2 separate regions of the Homo sapiens genome follow, and region 2 is linked to region 1. Evidence: promoter capture Hi-C in human tissues and cell types (Jung and others, 2019). All regions are on one chromosome and are shown on one strand. Each heading gives the region's core, a stretch centred on a gene start or on the middle of the fragment in contact. The rest is flanking DNA. Distances are from core to core; before and after follow the strand shown.

Evidence for each region. The method cuts DNA at HindIII sites, captures the fragments that hold promoters and counts their contacts. A contact is called where the count stands out against the background at its distance.
Region 2: a contact is called between a fragment that was not itself captured here and the fragment with the promoter of KRTAP12-4 in region 1, in 1 of the 25 tissues and cell types used here (H1 embryonic stem cells).

What each region holds. Positions count from the first base shown.
Region 1 is chr21:44,650,040-44,657,975 of GRCh38, reverse strand. It overlaps KRTAP12-4 (keratin associated protein 12-4), which reads left to right and starts at 3,317. Exons shown (of 1, transcript NM_198698.1): 1 at 3,317-3,763. The coding sequence starts at 3,362. The coding sequence ends at 3,700. All of the region lies in intron 1 of TSPEAR (thrombospondin type laminin G domain and EAR repeats), which reads left to right. KRTAP12-3 (keratin associated protein 12-3) reads right to left here and starts at 44. Exons shown (of 1, transcript NM_198697.2): 1 at 1-44. RefSeq lists enhancers at 1-382, 1,852-2,352, 2,353-2,853. The HindIII fragment of the contact is 6,744 bases long and covers 1-5,280 here.
Region 2 is chr21:44,367,713-44,375,648 of GRCh38, reverse strand. TRPM2 (transient receptor potential cation channel subfamily M member 2) reads right to left here. Exons shown (of 32, transcript NM_003307.4): 5 at 6,306-6,472. Among named protein-coding and RNA genes, the nearest start is that of TRPM2, 18 kb to the right of the region's middle. RefSeq lists an enhancer at 4,632-5,465. The HindIII fragment of the contact is 5,830 bases long and covers 2,159-7,936 here.

The sequences.
Region 1 (7,936 bases), core at 2,068-4,567:
GCGTGTGGCTGGGCTGGTACTGGGGAGGAGGATGGTGATGTCTGGAAGCTGCTTCTCTGGTGGTCTTTATACCTGGGTCCTGTCATCTGGGTAACACAAAAACACAACTGTTGTCTTCCTTGTGGTTGTTTCCACTGTGTTTCCCAACATCTTATTTTCCCGCGTGTACTTTCCCGCGTCATGCTCCACCATAAATAGCTTCGGCCTTGAGGTTAGTTTCTTCTGTAAACAGGATGTTCTGGTTTGACGTTATGCAGGTTTTTTGTCAATTTTTTTCAGGCTACTACCGTGCACATAGCACCACTGGCTCGACTCAAAGTACCGAATCCCGTTGTTTCACTTTTGTTTCATGCTATCAAGGAAGATGTTGAGGCAATAATGTATTTTGAGCTTTAATTTTGTAGAGTAAAACTTTAAAGCATAGGTTGGCAAACTATCGTCTGTGAGCCACATTTGGCCCACTGCCTGTTTTTCAAATGAACTCTTATTGGATCACAGCATGTCATTAGTTTATGTGTTGTCTGTGGCTTCTTTTGCACTATAGTGGCACAACTGAATAGTTATGGAAGAGACTGTAACATGCAAAGGCTAAAATATTTGCTGTCTGCCCTTTACAGAAAGTTAGCCAACCCTGCCATAGAGTAATCTATACAAGAAGTTATTTGTTAATGCAACAAATATATATTGTGTACCAGCAGCAACGAGGTCTTGGCCTCAAGAGCATTCTAGCAGTGGGCAATGAATAAATGAGTAAAGGAAGAAATGAATGCATGAAATAATTCCATACAGGGCTGAGTGCTGGGGAAAATGGGTTCAGGAGATAGTAATGGGGGTGCTGGTGGGTGGTCTGGGGGGCGTCTGTGAGGAGACAATGTGGCCATGGAGAGAGTGAGGATGCTGCTTCAGAAACTGGTATGTCCAGGGGAGGCAGGAATCCTGTACTCTGGGTGTTGGGCCATGGGTGCAGGTGAACTGGTCAGATCATGAGGACCCAAGAACCAAGCATCAGAATCCCATGCTGGGGGGGTCTGGGATTTGGGGTTAGGAGTCAGATGGAAAAAGAATCAGTGAACCTGAAGACACACCAGTAGAAATTATCTTGTCTCAAGAAGAGGAGAAAGAATCTAGAAAAATGAAAAGACATATGAGACAGTACTGAACTGTCTAACATACTAGTAGTTTGAACCTTGGAAAGAGAAGAGAGCGATACTGAACCATAAATAAGTTTCAAAAAAATAATGGCCCAAGGCACCAAATATGATTTAAAAAATAACAACTTACAGACCCAAGAATCTCAGAACCTTTAGGAGGATCAACACAAAGAAAACCATATCCAAGCATCAAATAGTAAGAGTAATGAAAATCAAAAAATTATTGAAGACAGTGGAAAAAAAAGACACTTCTCATACAAGGTATAAGGTTCTTGCAAGGATGAGAAAATCCCTCACTTCTCAGCAAAAACAGTGGAGGCCAGAAGACAATGGAACAACTTCTTTAAAATGCTCAAAAAAAATTTGCCAACCCAGAATTCTATACCTATGAAAAAAATCCTTCAAAACATGTTGAGGTAAAAACCTGTTCAGAAGAGCAAAAGCTGGGAGAAATCCTCCCCTGCAGATGTGCACTGCAGGTGACGTGCACGGATGTCCTTTAGGTTGACTAGGACGAGGCCAGGTGGGCCCTGACCTGCAGGAAGGAGTAGGAGGAACAGGGGAAGGTAAAGGAGCAGATAAATATCAAAGACGCATCCTTGTTCTTCTGTAATCGACTCGTAAGACAACCAACTTTTAAAATGGATTACTTGGTGACTAGCTCACAATCACTGTGGCTGCCCCAATTCTCTTGGTTTTTAAGTGTGATTCTGAACTATAGCAGTGAAAGGAGTTGCCTGTGAACTTGTGGCCTCGCCCGGCTTGTCCCTAGGCCTTAAGGTGACTCCCACATGGCCACAGATCGGCTCTGGGTCCATAGACTTCTAAGTTCTGTCCACAGCTCTGAGACCCCACTTGGTCTTCAGCCTTGGAGGGGATTTCATTAATGTGGTGTCTGACTTGTCTGAAGGCTTCTTGGCAGGAATCACCCATATCCACCACCAGCAGGCACAGAAGGACCCACACAGGAGCAGAGGGTGCCCCTGGGAGCTGCCTGGGATGGACAGAGTAGCTCTGCCCTGAGAGATGGCTCATCCCCCACCGTGTGACACCACCGTAGAATAAAGCGCTGTGGCCAATCCATCAAGAGAACAGAGCTGGAGTGTGAGGAGGAGCGTGTCATCCACACTCCTGCCCGCTGCTTCCCAAGTTCAGGGGCATCCTGGAATTTCACACCAGCTCCTCACTTTCCCCCAAGCTGCCTCTGCAGGGGTGAGACTGATCAGACCCACAGCGAGGGAGAGGAACCAGATATGAATAGCTCATGCCCGACTCCGTGATGGGTCCTCCTGGGCTCCGTCTGCAGAGGAGGTGTCCTGTGGCCATTAGTGCTACTCGTGGGAAGTGGGCACTTCTGAGGTGTGGTGTCAGGAAGCCCACTGTGGTCACACGCCTGAGCCATGCTCTGCAGACGCCAACGTGGCTGATGTTTTCGTCCATCTTCTCTGTCCGAGCTGGTTCAGGACTTCAGGATGAGTCACTTATTGAACCTTCAAGCCCTAGTATAATTTGGCACAGTGGTAACGACCATGGATCCCAGAGTGAAACTAAGCAGTCCAGATCCCTGCACCTCTGCAGTGGTGCAGACACGCACCCATTGTGCAAACCCTCTATGACTTACAAATTGCACATCTGTAAAATGGGGTATCGGCCACCCCGAATGCTGGCAAAGATGAATGAGATAATCACAGCCTGGCACAGTGCTAGACCTCTGTGCATTACTGTTACCTCAATAATCATCATTATTATTCCACAATATAGAGCCCAGTAGTTTGGCTCTCGTTACTTGGGAAGACCCTGATGATGACTGAGCTTCTCAGTCAAAACGGGGCCCCTGGTGTAGTGAGTGTGACTGTGCTTGTGTGAGCTCCAGATGGCATTTACAACGGGGGGACCTTGAACATCCATGAGGTGGGCCCCTGGCCTCACTGACAGCCCTTCACCAGCTACCCCTGCTCTGTTTCCAGGAAACACACGGTCTGCTGAATGATAGGGCACCCCTAGCTGAAAGAGTTTCCTGAACTGAGTAACCTCAACAGAAAAACACAGAAAGATCAACCAGACAGGGCAGAGGAGGAAAAACCACCCACGAGGAAGATGCCAGGGGGCTTGTTGCCAGGATGCCGGTAGCCTGGGTATAAAGGCCACCTAAGGAAGCAGGCTCCAGACCAGCCCTGTCCTCTGCGCCCCCCACCTGTCCACACTCCATCATGTGCCACACCAGCCACTCTTCGGGCTGCCCAATGGCCTGCCCTGGCTCCCCGTGCTGTGTCCCCAGCACCTGCTACCCACCCGAGGGCTATGGGACCTCCTGCTGCTGCTCAGCCCCCTGTGTGGCTCTGCTGTGCCGGCCCCTGTGTGGGGTATCCACCTGCTGCCAGCCAGCCTGCTGTGTGCCCAGCCCCTGCCAGGTGGCCTGCTGTGTGCCTGTGAGCTGCAAGCCTGTTTTGTGTGTGGCTTCCTTCTGCCCAACCTCTGGGTGCTGCCAGCCCTTCTGCCCCACCCTGGTCTATAGACCTGTCACCTGGAGCACCCCCACTGGCTGCTGAGCAGGTGGCCTCCTATGACCCTCGTAGGTGCGAGGTCAGAAGCCAGCAGGCTCTCTGAACTCCTGCCAGGCAGTCCCCACATCCTCCCACAGCAAACTGTCGTCACCTGACTAGACCGCCTGCCTCCTTTGCGGCACCGTCACTAGATCCCAGCCGGTGAGGCCATGCGCCTTTCTACACAGTTTCTCCTGGGTTCACAGCCTGGGCCATCCACAGGGCCCTCCGCACTGTCTGATGTTAGGTCTCTTGCAAATATCATAAATACCAGATGCTGAGTGCTCACCTGAGTCTGTGTGATGCCTTCTCCTCAGTGTCTTTCCCACACTCCTTCCTCAGGAGGTACCTTCCCCAGGATTCTGGAAAGCTCCTTCCCTGCAGAGAAGGGGCAGGTACCAGATGAATGTTAGGCCTGGTGAGCGGCCTCTCAACAGCACCCTCTCGGGCTAGTGGGCCGTGCTCCTGAGCTTGGCCTGATGGGAACCCCCAACCCCAGTCACATCAGGCTTCCTTCGTCCCACTTTGTTCCTTAAATGTATGAGGTCAGTTCTTACTCTCTTCTGGGTGAGATTGAGGACAAATCACTAATTTTGTAGTTTGATCCATTTTAGGTAAAACGGGCCATCTGCTTATTAGCTGGTATGTGCAACCCACTCTTGTCAAGAAATTAAAACCTTAAACTAAATTTAAATCTATAGCTACTCCTTCATCCAACTGGATGGGAAAGAGGTTTGTGGTGTTGATAAAAAAAGCTTTTAAGGAATTAAAGTGAGCTTTACTCAGAAGTTTTACCGAGGACTATAGAAGAGTGAGGTTTCTAGCCGGGGGCAGCTCTGTCAGAGATTCCGGCTCCGTGTTTCAGCTCACACCAGCCCGGGGGCAGCCCTGTCAGAGGCTCCGCCCCGGGTTTCAGCTCACAGTTCATATGCAGGTGGCGGGAGGTCAGCACGTGCAGATCACATGAAACTGGCTCAGAAGCTGCATCAAAGCAGAATCACATCCGGGTTTGGGGGCAGGAGCACATCTGGTTATGGACCGCAGAGGCATCATCACTCGCCCTATAAGACGTTATCTTGTTCAGGAAAAGGCAAGGACTAGCATCATTTATCTTTCTTTTTTTTTGAGATGGAGTCTCGCTCTGTCACCAGGCTGGAGTGCAGCGGCGTGATCTCAGCTCACTGCAAGCTCCACCTCCCAAGTTCACGCCATTCTTCTGCCTCAGCCTCCCGAGTATCTGGGACTACAGGTGCCCGCCGCCACGCTTGGTTAATTTTTTTTGTATTTTTAGTAGAGACGGGGTTTCACCGTGTTAGCCAGGATGGTTTTGATCTCCTGACCTTGTGATCCACCCGCCTCGGCCTCCCAAAGTGCTGGGATTACAGGTGTGAGCCACCACACCCCGCCAGAAGACTCTACATTTTAACCCTATATTTGCAGGTTGATGATTCTGAGTTCTGACTTTTCCTTGATATAATTTAACTATTTAAAAATGTGTACAAGAATGGGCCATGATATGTAGTCAACTGGAGTCCCAGAAAACCTGGCACGCCTTAATGTTTGAGAATCCCAGTTTTGGCCATTTCAGTGTTCAATCTCCTTTAGCTAACCCCTTACTTCTAGAAAGATACTTGCAAGTATAGACTCTGTATGGGTTACACATGAAGCCATTCCTACCTAGTATCTTTCAACGAGGAGAATTCCCCCTTCGTAAGACATAAAAAGTCTCACAGAAGAATGTACCCCTTCAGCAAGAAGTAAAATGAACTAACTGAATACAACTCAGGACTCTCAACCAAGTGGGAGGTCAGAGACTCAGGAGAGAGTCACTCAGTCACCTGTAACCATGGAGGAGCCGTGGGGGCTCAAGTGGCCTGTGCTGGTACCGGGGTGCTGGGTCCCCGCAGTGTTCCAGACGTCCCTGAGCAGTCCACTCTGAGTCCTATCTGGGTCACTGTGATTTTCATCTAAGGAAAAAAATTAAACTTTTAGAGAATGGGGCCCGGTGCGGTGGCTCACGCCTGTCATCCCAGCACTCTGGGAGGCCGAGGCGGGCGGATCACGAGGTCAGGAGATCGAGACCATCCTGGCTAACACAGTGAAACCCCGTCTCTACTAAAAATACAAAAAATTAGCCGGGAGAGGTGGCAGGCACCTGTACTCCCAGCTATTCGGGAGGCTGAGGCAGGAGAATTGTGTGAACGCGGGAGGCGGACCTTGCAGTGAGCCGAGATCGCGCCACTGCACTCCAGCCTGGGCGACACAGTGAGACTCCGTTTCAAAAAAAAAAAAAAAAAAAAAAGAAAGTTTTATTCAGAAGTCTTACTGAGGCCTAAACTGCTCCTGGGCTATATAGGCCTCGGTCTATAGTCCTCAGTAAGACTTCTGAAGCAAACTAACTTTCATTTTTTAAAAGCTTGATTTTTTTCCCCTTAGTCCATAGAGGTGAACTTCTGTGGCCAGCTGAGTATGGTCGCCAATGATGTCCACATCCTGGTTCTCAGAACCTATGAGTGTCACCTTTTGTGGCAGCAGGGACTTCACACGTGTGGCTAATTAAGGGAACTTAATATGTGTGGACCATAAGGTGTGGCTAATGGGAGAGTACCCTGGATTATCCAGGTGGGCCCAGTGTCTCCACAGGGTCCTTATCAGAAGGAGGGAGGAGGACATTTGGCCAGAGGAGAAGGTCATGGCAGGTGTGAGTGAGATGCCTGCTGCTAGCCCTGAACCAAGGGCTCGAGCCATTTCCAGAAGCTGAAAGAGATGAGGAAAGATTCTCTCCTGCAGCCTCCCGAAGGAACCCGCCCTGCCCATGCCTTGATTTTAGCCCTGTGAGACCCACAGCAGACTTCGGACCTCCACTGCTATGAGATGATCCATTCGTGTTGTTCGAAGCTACTAAGTTTGTGGCCACAGGACACACATCCAACTTCTCTGTCTCACAGCCTGGTGTTTCTACACACTGCGTGGTCTTGCCAGCCACAGCCGTGAGCTGTCTGGGGCTGTGTGGGGGAGGCAAGGAGAAGAAAAGGGGAGGAGAGACAAGTCTCCTCTCTGGAGACCTGTGGTGACTGGGCTGTCACTCTCTCTGCTTGCCAGGGCTTCGGCCTCACTCTCCCGCTCGTGGCCTGTCCATTGTGGGAGCTTTTTCCCTGTGGCTCCCCCAGCCTGGAAGAGGCTCTACTCTAGCTGGTGCCAACAGCTTCCTTCTGCCAAGACCTGTCCTCTCCCCAGGTTCTACTGCAGAGCCTGAGTCCACCCCTGGTGCCCCCTCCCTGGTGGGGCGCCACCTGGACCTGGGGGACCATCAGGGAGTGTCACCCTGTCCTCCCCCAGAGCATCTGCAGATTCCGGCCTCAGACTTCTTGGGTGTGTCAGAGCCAAGCCATGGTTGTCCCCTCTTCAGAGGACTCCGTCCACCTCTGGGGATCTCTGTGGCCTGTCCCTTGGCCTGTAGGAGGTCACAGGCCCCAGGCACTTCCCTCAGAACTCCTTTCCCAGCCCCCAGCCCCATTTCCCTGGACTCTCCACCCTCACTGGGGGCTGGAGCTGGAGGGCGTGTTGACATCCGGGGGCTGCTGTGACAGAGTCCCACGCCAGCTATGTGACATGGCAGAAGCTCACATCTCACGGTTCTGGAGGACTGCAGTCCGAGGTGAAGGCGTCAGTGGGGCTGGTTCCTTCCATGGTGGTGAAGGAGAGTCTGTCCCCATCTGGGGGATGACTCTGTCCTGTTTTCTGGGCCTGTTGCCTTCTTTGGTGTCCTTGGCCTGCAGGGGCATTGCCCAATCTCTGCCTCCGTCATCACGTGGCCCCAATCTCTGCCCCCGTCGTCACGTGGCCCCAGTCTCTGCCGCCGTCGTCACATGGCGTTCTCCAGGTGCCCGTTCGTGTGCAAATTTTGCCTTTTTATAAAAACAGAAGTGGTGTTGGCTCAGGGTCCCCCACTAATGACTTCACTTCAACTTGACTACATCTGCAAAGGTCCTGTTTCCACGTAAGGTCATGTTTACAGTATGAGGGATCAGCATCCAACATATACCTTTTCTTTCTTTTTTTTTTTTGGAGAGGGTCTTGCCTGGTCACCCAGGCTGGAGTGCAGTGGCGCGATCACGGCTCACTGCAGCCTTGACCTCCCAGGCTCAAGCCGTCTTCCCACCAAAGTAGCTGGGACTAGAGGTGCACACCACCATGTTCAGCTAAATTGTATTGTATTTTCTGTGGAGATGGGGTCTCACT
Region 2 (7,936 bases), core at 3,824-6,323, 280 kb after region 1:
TGGGCCCAAAATACCATCACAGGTGTCCTTACAGGAGAGAGGTGGTGGGGGACACACACAGGAGAGGAGGCCGAGGGACCACAGAGGCAGGGGCAAGTGACATAGCCACAAGTGGAGAAAGCCGGACCCCCCAGGAGTGGAGGAGGCGGGGAAACAGACGTGTGACCCTGACTTCAGAGTTCTGTCCTCCAGACACGTGAGAGACCACAATGCTGCTGTTTCAGGCTTGAGGCCATTTGTTACGGCAGCCACAGGAAACGGATACAGGTCTGGGGTGAGGAAGTGGGCTGCTGCTGCAACAAACACCTAAAAATGTGGAAGTGGCATTGAAACCGGCAATGGGGAGACGACGGGAGGATTTAGAAGCACCATGAATGGAAAACGTCTCAACGTCCTTGAAGAGAATGTTGGTGGGAATGTGGTATTAAAGGCCTTGCGGAGACGGGCGCGGTGGCTCACGCCTGGAATCCCAGCACTTTGGGAGGCCAAGGCGGGAGGATCACCTGAGCCCTGGAGTTCGAGACCAGCCTGGACGACATAGCGGATCTCATGTCTACAAAAATGAAAAAATTAGCCGGGCATGGTGGTGCACACCTGTAGTCCCAGCTACTTGGGAGGCTGAGATGGGAAGATCACTTGAGCCCGGGAGGTCAAGGCTGAGGATCGCACCAACATACTCCAGCCTGGGCAACAGTGAGACCCTGTCTCAGAAAAAAAACAACTCGCAGTAAGGGCTCAGAAGGAAGTGAGGAGCAGGGCAGAGAGGGCTTTGTTGCCCTAGAGCAGGGGTCCCCCACCCCCTGGGCCATGGACTGGTAATGGTCTGTGGCCTGTGAGGATCTGGGCTGCTCACAGCAGGAGGTGGGTGGTGGGTGAACGAGCGAAGCTTCATCCCTATTTACAGCCGCTCCCCATCGTGTGTGTGACTGTCCGAGCTCCACCTCCTGTCAGATCCGCGGCATTAGATTCTCATGGGAATACTAACCTTACTGTGAACTGTGCATGCGAGGGACCTAGGTTGTACTCCCCTTACGAAAATCTAATGCCTAATGATCTGTCACTGTCCCCCATCACCCCCAGATGATGGGACCGTCTAGCTGCAGGAAAACAAGCTCAGGGCTCCCACTGATCCTACATTATGGTGAGCTGTATGATTACTGCATTATATATTACAATGTAATAATAGAAATAAAGTGCACAATAAACGTAACGTGCTTGAATCATCCCCAAACCAACCGCTTACCACCCCGCCCCCATCTGTGGAAAAACTCTCTTCCACGAAACCAGTTCCTGGTGCCAAAAAGGCTGGGGACCGCTGCCTTAGAAAATATATATACGGGCCAGGCACGGTGGCTCACGCCTGGAATCCCAGCACTTTGGGAGGCCAAGGTGGGCAGATCAGTTGAGGTCAGGAGTTCGAGACCAGCCTGGCCAACATGGTGAAACCCCGTCTGTACTAAAAATACAAAAATTAGCTGGGTATGGTGGCACATGCCTGTAATCCCAGCTACTCGGGAGGCTAAGGTGGGAGATTTGCTTGAACCCGGAAGGTGGAGGTTGCAGTGAGCCAAGATCGCACCACTGCACTCCAGCCTGGGCAAAAGAGCAAGGCTCCATCTCAAAAAAAAAAAAAGAGAGAGAGAGAGAATACATATACTGGCATGAACAGAATTTTAGCAGAAAAATGAACATCACAGTTGCTTCTTCTGGTGAGGGCTCAGAAGGAAGTGGGAAATGTGGTACTGGAGACTGGAGGGAAGGCCAACTTTGCTGCAGAGTGACAGAAAGCCTGGCTGAATTGTGCTGTGCAGTTTTGTGGAGAGCAGAACTGTAAATGATGAACTTGAAGATTTAGCCGCAGAGATCTCCAAGCAAAGTGTTCAAGTTGTGGCCTGGCTTTTTTTTCTTGCTGCTTCTCACAAAATGCAAAAGGAAAGAGAGAAATTGAGGGAAAAACTGACAGACAAAATGGAACCAGGACTTGATGATGTGGGAAATTCTCAGCCTATCCGGGTCGCATATAATGCAGGTCGCATATAATGCAGGTCGCATATAATGCAGGTCGCATATAATGCAGGTCGCATATAATGCAGGTCGCATATAATGCAGAAAATGAAAAGAGATTCACTGTTCGAAAAGCAGACTCTAAAGAGAAGGCCAACGGCCAAGCGCAGTGGCTCACACCTGTAATCCCAGCACTTTGGGGGGCCGAGGCGGGCGGATCACTTGAGGTCAGGAGTTCGAGACCAGCCTGGCCAACATGGAGAAACCCTGTCTCTACTAAAAATACAAAAATTAGCTGGGCATGGTGGTGGGTGCCTGTAGACCTAGCTACTCAGGAGGCTGAGGCAGGAGAATCACTTGAACCCAGGAGGCGGAGGTTGCAGTGAGCTGAGATCGCACCACTGCACTCCAGCCTGGGCAACAGAGTGAGACTGTCTCAAAAAAAAAACAAAAAGAAAAAAGAGAGAGGGCCAAGGGTGTGTCTAAACAACCTCCTGCTAGTGATGAAGAGACCAGGCAAGGAGACTGCAATTCACTCAACCATCTCAGAAGCCAGGAGTGGAGACAGCATCACAGGAAAGGTCTGCAGAGCCCTTTTTGTCTACTGGCAGAAATTCCTATGGCATTCAAAGGAGGACTGCAAGGTTTTCACAAATGTTATATCAACAACAACACTGCAAATTTGGACTGAAAGGGACAGAGACGGGATAAAATGAAAGGTCGTCAGACTCCTTAAAATCTTCAAGCAGACTAAAAGCTATAACCTTCAGGGAAAAGGATCGTCCTGAAGGCAGGGCCGTGGACACAGAGCAGGGTAGGGGGTGCCCAAGCCACAGAGGGGTCTCCCCGGTCTTATCACCTAGTGCATTCTGCCTGCCGGGTTTTGGAATTGCCTGGGGCTGGTGATGCCTTCGTTCCTCCCGTGTTCCCCCATTGGGAATGAGAGTGTCTGCAGCTGTGATGCTACACCTGCTCTTCCCTTGTATTTTGGAGATAGGTGACTTGTTTTCTGGTCTCACAGGTGCACATATGAAGAGAAATTCTGCCCCAGAATGGATCAGACCCAGAGTCTTCAGCGTCCCTGACTTAAATGATGACATTTGGGACTTTTGAGCTGATGATATTTTTGTTTGTTTGTTTTGTTTTGCTTGAGACGGTGTCTCGCTCTGTCACCTGGGCTGGAGTGCAGTGGCACAACCTTGGCTCGCTGCAACCTCCGCCTCCCAGGTTCAAGCGATTCTCCTGCCTTGGCCTCCCAGTAGCTGGGATTACAGTCGCCTACCACCATGCCCGGCTAATTTTTTGTAGAGACGGGGTTTCTCCATGTTGACCAGGCTGGTCTCAAGCTCCTGACCTCAGGTGATATGCCTGCCTTGGCCTCCCAAAGTGTTGGGATGACAGGTGTGAGCCACCGCACTCGGCCAAGCTTATGATATTTACATGAGATTTTGATCTTGGAGTTTCTGCTGTAACAGGTTTGTAGTTGGAGGGGATCATTTTGTTTGGTTTGGTTTGGTTTAGTTTAGACAGAGTCTTGCTCTGTCACCCAGGCTGGAGTGCAGTGGCATGATCTTGGTTCCCTGCAACCTCCAGCTCCTGGGTTCAAGCAATTCTTCTGCCTCAGCTGGGATTACAGGCGCCTGCCACTATGCCCAGTTAATTTTTGTATTTTTAGTAAAGACAGGGTTTCCACCATATTGGCCAAGCTGGTCTTGAACTTTTGTCCTCAAGTGATCCGCCCATCTCAGCCTCCCAATGTGCTGGGATGACAGGTGTGAGCCCCCACACCCAGCCAAGATCTGGCAATGGTGTGAACATATTTTGCCTGTGGAGTGGACAGAAATCTTTGAGGTCAGAGGGAGGACCGCAGTTGGCTGAATCATGGCCACCCAAAGACATCAAGGCCTGCTCATGGACCCGGTAAGTGCTGCTCCTCATTTCCTTGTTTGGAAAAGCATCTTTGCAGATGTCAGTTAAAGATCTGGATATGAAGGCATCACCCTAGATGACCCTAGTGGGACCTACACGCCATCACGAGTGTTCTTACGGAACTCTTGGGGGAGATTTGACACAGGCACACAGAGAAGGCCACGGGACACGGAGGCAGAGACTGGAGGGAGGCGGCCACGGGACACGGAGGCAGAGACTGGAGGGAGGCGGCCACGGGACACGGAGGCAGAGACTGGAGGGAGGCGGCCACGGGACACGGAGGCAGAGACTGGAGGGAGGCGGCCACGGGACACGGAGGCAGAGACTGGAGGGAGGCGGCCACGGGACACGGAGGCAGAGACTGGAGGGAGGCGGCCACGGGACACGGAGGCAGACACTGGAGGGAGGCGGCCACGGGACACGGAGGCAGACACTGGAGGGAGGCGGCCACGGGACACGGAGGCAGAGACTGGAGGGAGGCGGCCATGGGACACGGAGGCAGCGACTGGAGGGAGGTGGCCACTGGCCAGGGAATGCCATCAGCACCCAGACGCTGGAGGCAGCAAGGAATGCTCTTCCCCTAGGCCCTAGAGGGAGGTGGCCCCGCCAACACCGATGGCTGGATGATGGCCAATCGACGCGGATTCCAGATCTGATAGACTAAGTTTCTGCTGCTTTAAGCCACCAGGTTTGTGAGCCTGGGTTACAGCAGCCCCGGGAGACAGACCTAAGGGAGGGCGGCAGCCGGGCTGGGACACACACCCTCCGCCGTCCACAGAGAGGGAGCGTGGCTGAGCGGAAGCAGCCACAGTCCCATTCCGCCACCAACAGTGGTGTCACGGGAAGTCGTCTGAACTCAGCGTGGGGAGGAAAGTAAGGAGTGACCTGGGACGTCACCCAGCCGCTCCTGGCTTCAGTTTTTCAATTCGTAAAAAGAGCAAACAAAGCCCAACAGCTGGTCCAGTCCGACCCCGCCGGACACATTCATGATTCTGACGCAAAGGAAGGCGAAGGCCGGGCTGGGGCTGGCCAGTGCTTGCTGGGCCCCTCGTGGGCATCTGGGAGTGTCCTCTGCCCGCCCGGGGAATGGACGCACAGTGTCCGTGTCACTGTCAGAGGAGTAAATCACCCCTCGGGGTAACAAGGGAACCTGCTCAGTGAGTCACAGGCCAGTGTTCCCTGGGCTTTCCTGACCACGTGGATTCAGGGGCACACACGCATCATACCAAAGTTAGTGTGTCCTTGGAAAATCTGGTTGAATGACTCATTATCTGTCCCAACTCAAGGCTCCGGATTAAAGCAACTGCTTCTCCTGCGTCCAGTTAATCAGAGGCAGGAGTGCTCCGTCCTCAACCTTGACGGAGAAGCTGGGGGTGGGTGCTGGCTGCCAGGGACCACAGCACAGTGGGATTCCCGGCTGCAGGAGACCTCTGAGTACAGGGACTCAAAGTGCTAAAAGCTCCGGTTCGGGGTCGGATCGCCCTGGCTCAGCCCCACCCAGCTGCCTGCTGGCCACGCCCCCTCCCTCTGCTCTGTTAGCGGAACCCTCGCAGCGAGTGACTGTCACGTGGACCCCTCTTACAACCTTGAGGGAGATACCAGAGTCCAGCCAAGTTAGCCGTTTGTCCGGGGTCACCTGGGTCAGGGGTGGGCCGGGAGTTGCACCCAATCTCCTGAGTGTGCCCGCCTCCCCCGCACACTCCACCTGCTCCTCACAGCACCCGGTCAGACGTCACCCACACCCCGCCTCCCCCGCACACTCCACCTGCTCCCCGCAGCACCCGGTCAGAACTCACCCACACCCCGGCCCCCGCACACTCCACCTGCTCCCCGCAGCACCCGGTCAGACGTCACCCACACCCCGCCTCCCCCGCACACTCCACCTGCTCCCCGCAGCACCCGGTCAGACGTCACCCACACCCCGCCTCCCCCGCACACTCCACCTGCTCCCCGCAGCACCCGGTCAGAACTCACCCACACCCCGGCCCCCGCACACTCCACCTGCTCGCCGCAGCACCCGGTCAGACGTCACCCACACCCCGCCTCCCCCGCACACTCCACCTGCTCCCCGCAGCACCCGGTCAGACGTCACCCACACCCCGCCTCCCCCGCACACTCCACCTGCTCCCCGCAGCACCCGGTCAGAACTCACCCACACCCCGGCCCCCGCACACTCCACCTGCTCCCCGCAGCACCCGGTCAGACGTCACCCACACCCCGGCCCCCGCACACTCCGCCTGCTCCCCACAGCGCCCGGTCAGACGTCACCCACACCCCGGCCCCCGTACACTCCACCTGCTCCCCACAGCGCCCAGTCAGACCTCACCCACACCCCTGGTCTTAGGCTCCCCTCCCTAGGGGGCCGCACTCACCGTGGGATGGATCAGGCCCTCGCGGCGGTGGACAGTGCCCCAGGTGGCGACTCCGATGGTGATGAGCTCGCCTTCCTTGTAGCTGCTGCTCAGGCTGAAGTCCCGCACCGCCTCGCCTACCTGCTTCATGACGCCGGTGTGGGACCCCCCTGTGATGATCCAGGCCCCTGGGGAAGGAGCACGGGTGGGCAGGCCCCACAGCACTGAGGGGCACCTGACACCCAGGAGCCTGACGCCTGAGCCCTTCTAGGCTCAGCGATGCCCCGCCCCCAACAACGCAGAGCTCCTCACTCAGGGGCTTTCAAACCAGCATCAGGTGTAAGGAACCGAGGTTCCCACGCGCTCAGGTGGGGTGGGAACAGGAGCAGGCCCCGCCCCTCTCCCGGTCCCTGCCGCCTCCTCAGGCCCCAGTCTCAGGATCGCGGTTCTCAGCACCTCTCTGCATTCTTGTATTTTGCTTTCCCTCTTCCTCCCAGCTTTCAGGACCCAGGTGCGGCAGAGTGCTTCCTCGCTCCCAACACTCAGCCTGGTCCCTAGGAAGGATGCCCCTCACCTCCCACCTGCCATCTGCTGCTGGTGGTTTGCAGCCACCCCTGTAAGAAACACACCTCCGGCCGGGCACGGTGGCTCACGCCTGTAATCCCAGCACTTTGGGAGGCCGAGGCGGGCAGATCACCTGAGGTCAGGAGTTCGAGACCAGCCTGGCCAACATGGTGAAACCCCGTCTCTACTAAAAATACAAAAATTAGCCAGGCATGGTAGCACACGCCTGCAGTCCCAGCTACTCAGGAGGCTGAGGCAGGAGAATTGCTTGAACTCAGGAGGCAGAGGTTGCAGTGAGCTGAGATAGCGCCACCACCACTGCACTCCAGCCTGGGTGACAGAGCAAGACTCCAACTCCAAAAAAAAAACAAAAAAATAAAAAAAACAGCCAATCAGCCAGGCATGGTGGCTCACGCCTGTTATCCCAGCACTTTGGGAGGCCAAGGCAGGAAGATTACTTGAGCCCAGGAGTTCAAGACCAGCCTGGACAACATAGACCTTGTCTCTACAAAAATTAGCCTGGCATGGTGGCATACGCCTCTAGTCCCAGCAACTCAGGAGGCGGAGGCAGGAGTATCACCTGAGCCCAAGAGGTCGAGGCTGCAATGAGCTGAGATCGTGCTACTGCACTCCAGCCTGGGGAACAGACTGAGACCCTGTCTCAAAAATAAATAGATGGATGGATGGAAGGATGGAGATAGATAGATAGAAAGATAACAATTGAAAAGGTGGTACTGGCTTTGGGCCAGGAAGCGGACAACAAGGACACGGATATTGAAAGCTAAAAAAATGCAACATCAAGACCTGGAGCAGGTGAGACCTGAACAAATCCATGGCATTATTTGAGGCAGCAAAGCTTCAGAAAGAGCCTGTGGGATGGTGACCTGCGTTAAACCCAGTCCCATGTGACCAGGCTGAGAAAAGGTCTGGTCATTTTACAAGCAGGGCTGTGGGACTCACAGGTCAAAAGATGCAGCCGTGCCTCACGCTCACCAGGCAGACAATGAAACTGAGGACTCTGTGAGCCATGCAGGCCAAGTCAGGCTCAGTTACGACTCCACTGCGAGGCAAAGACCAGACCCCAGACC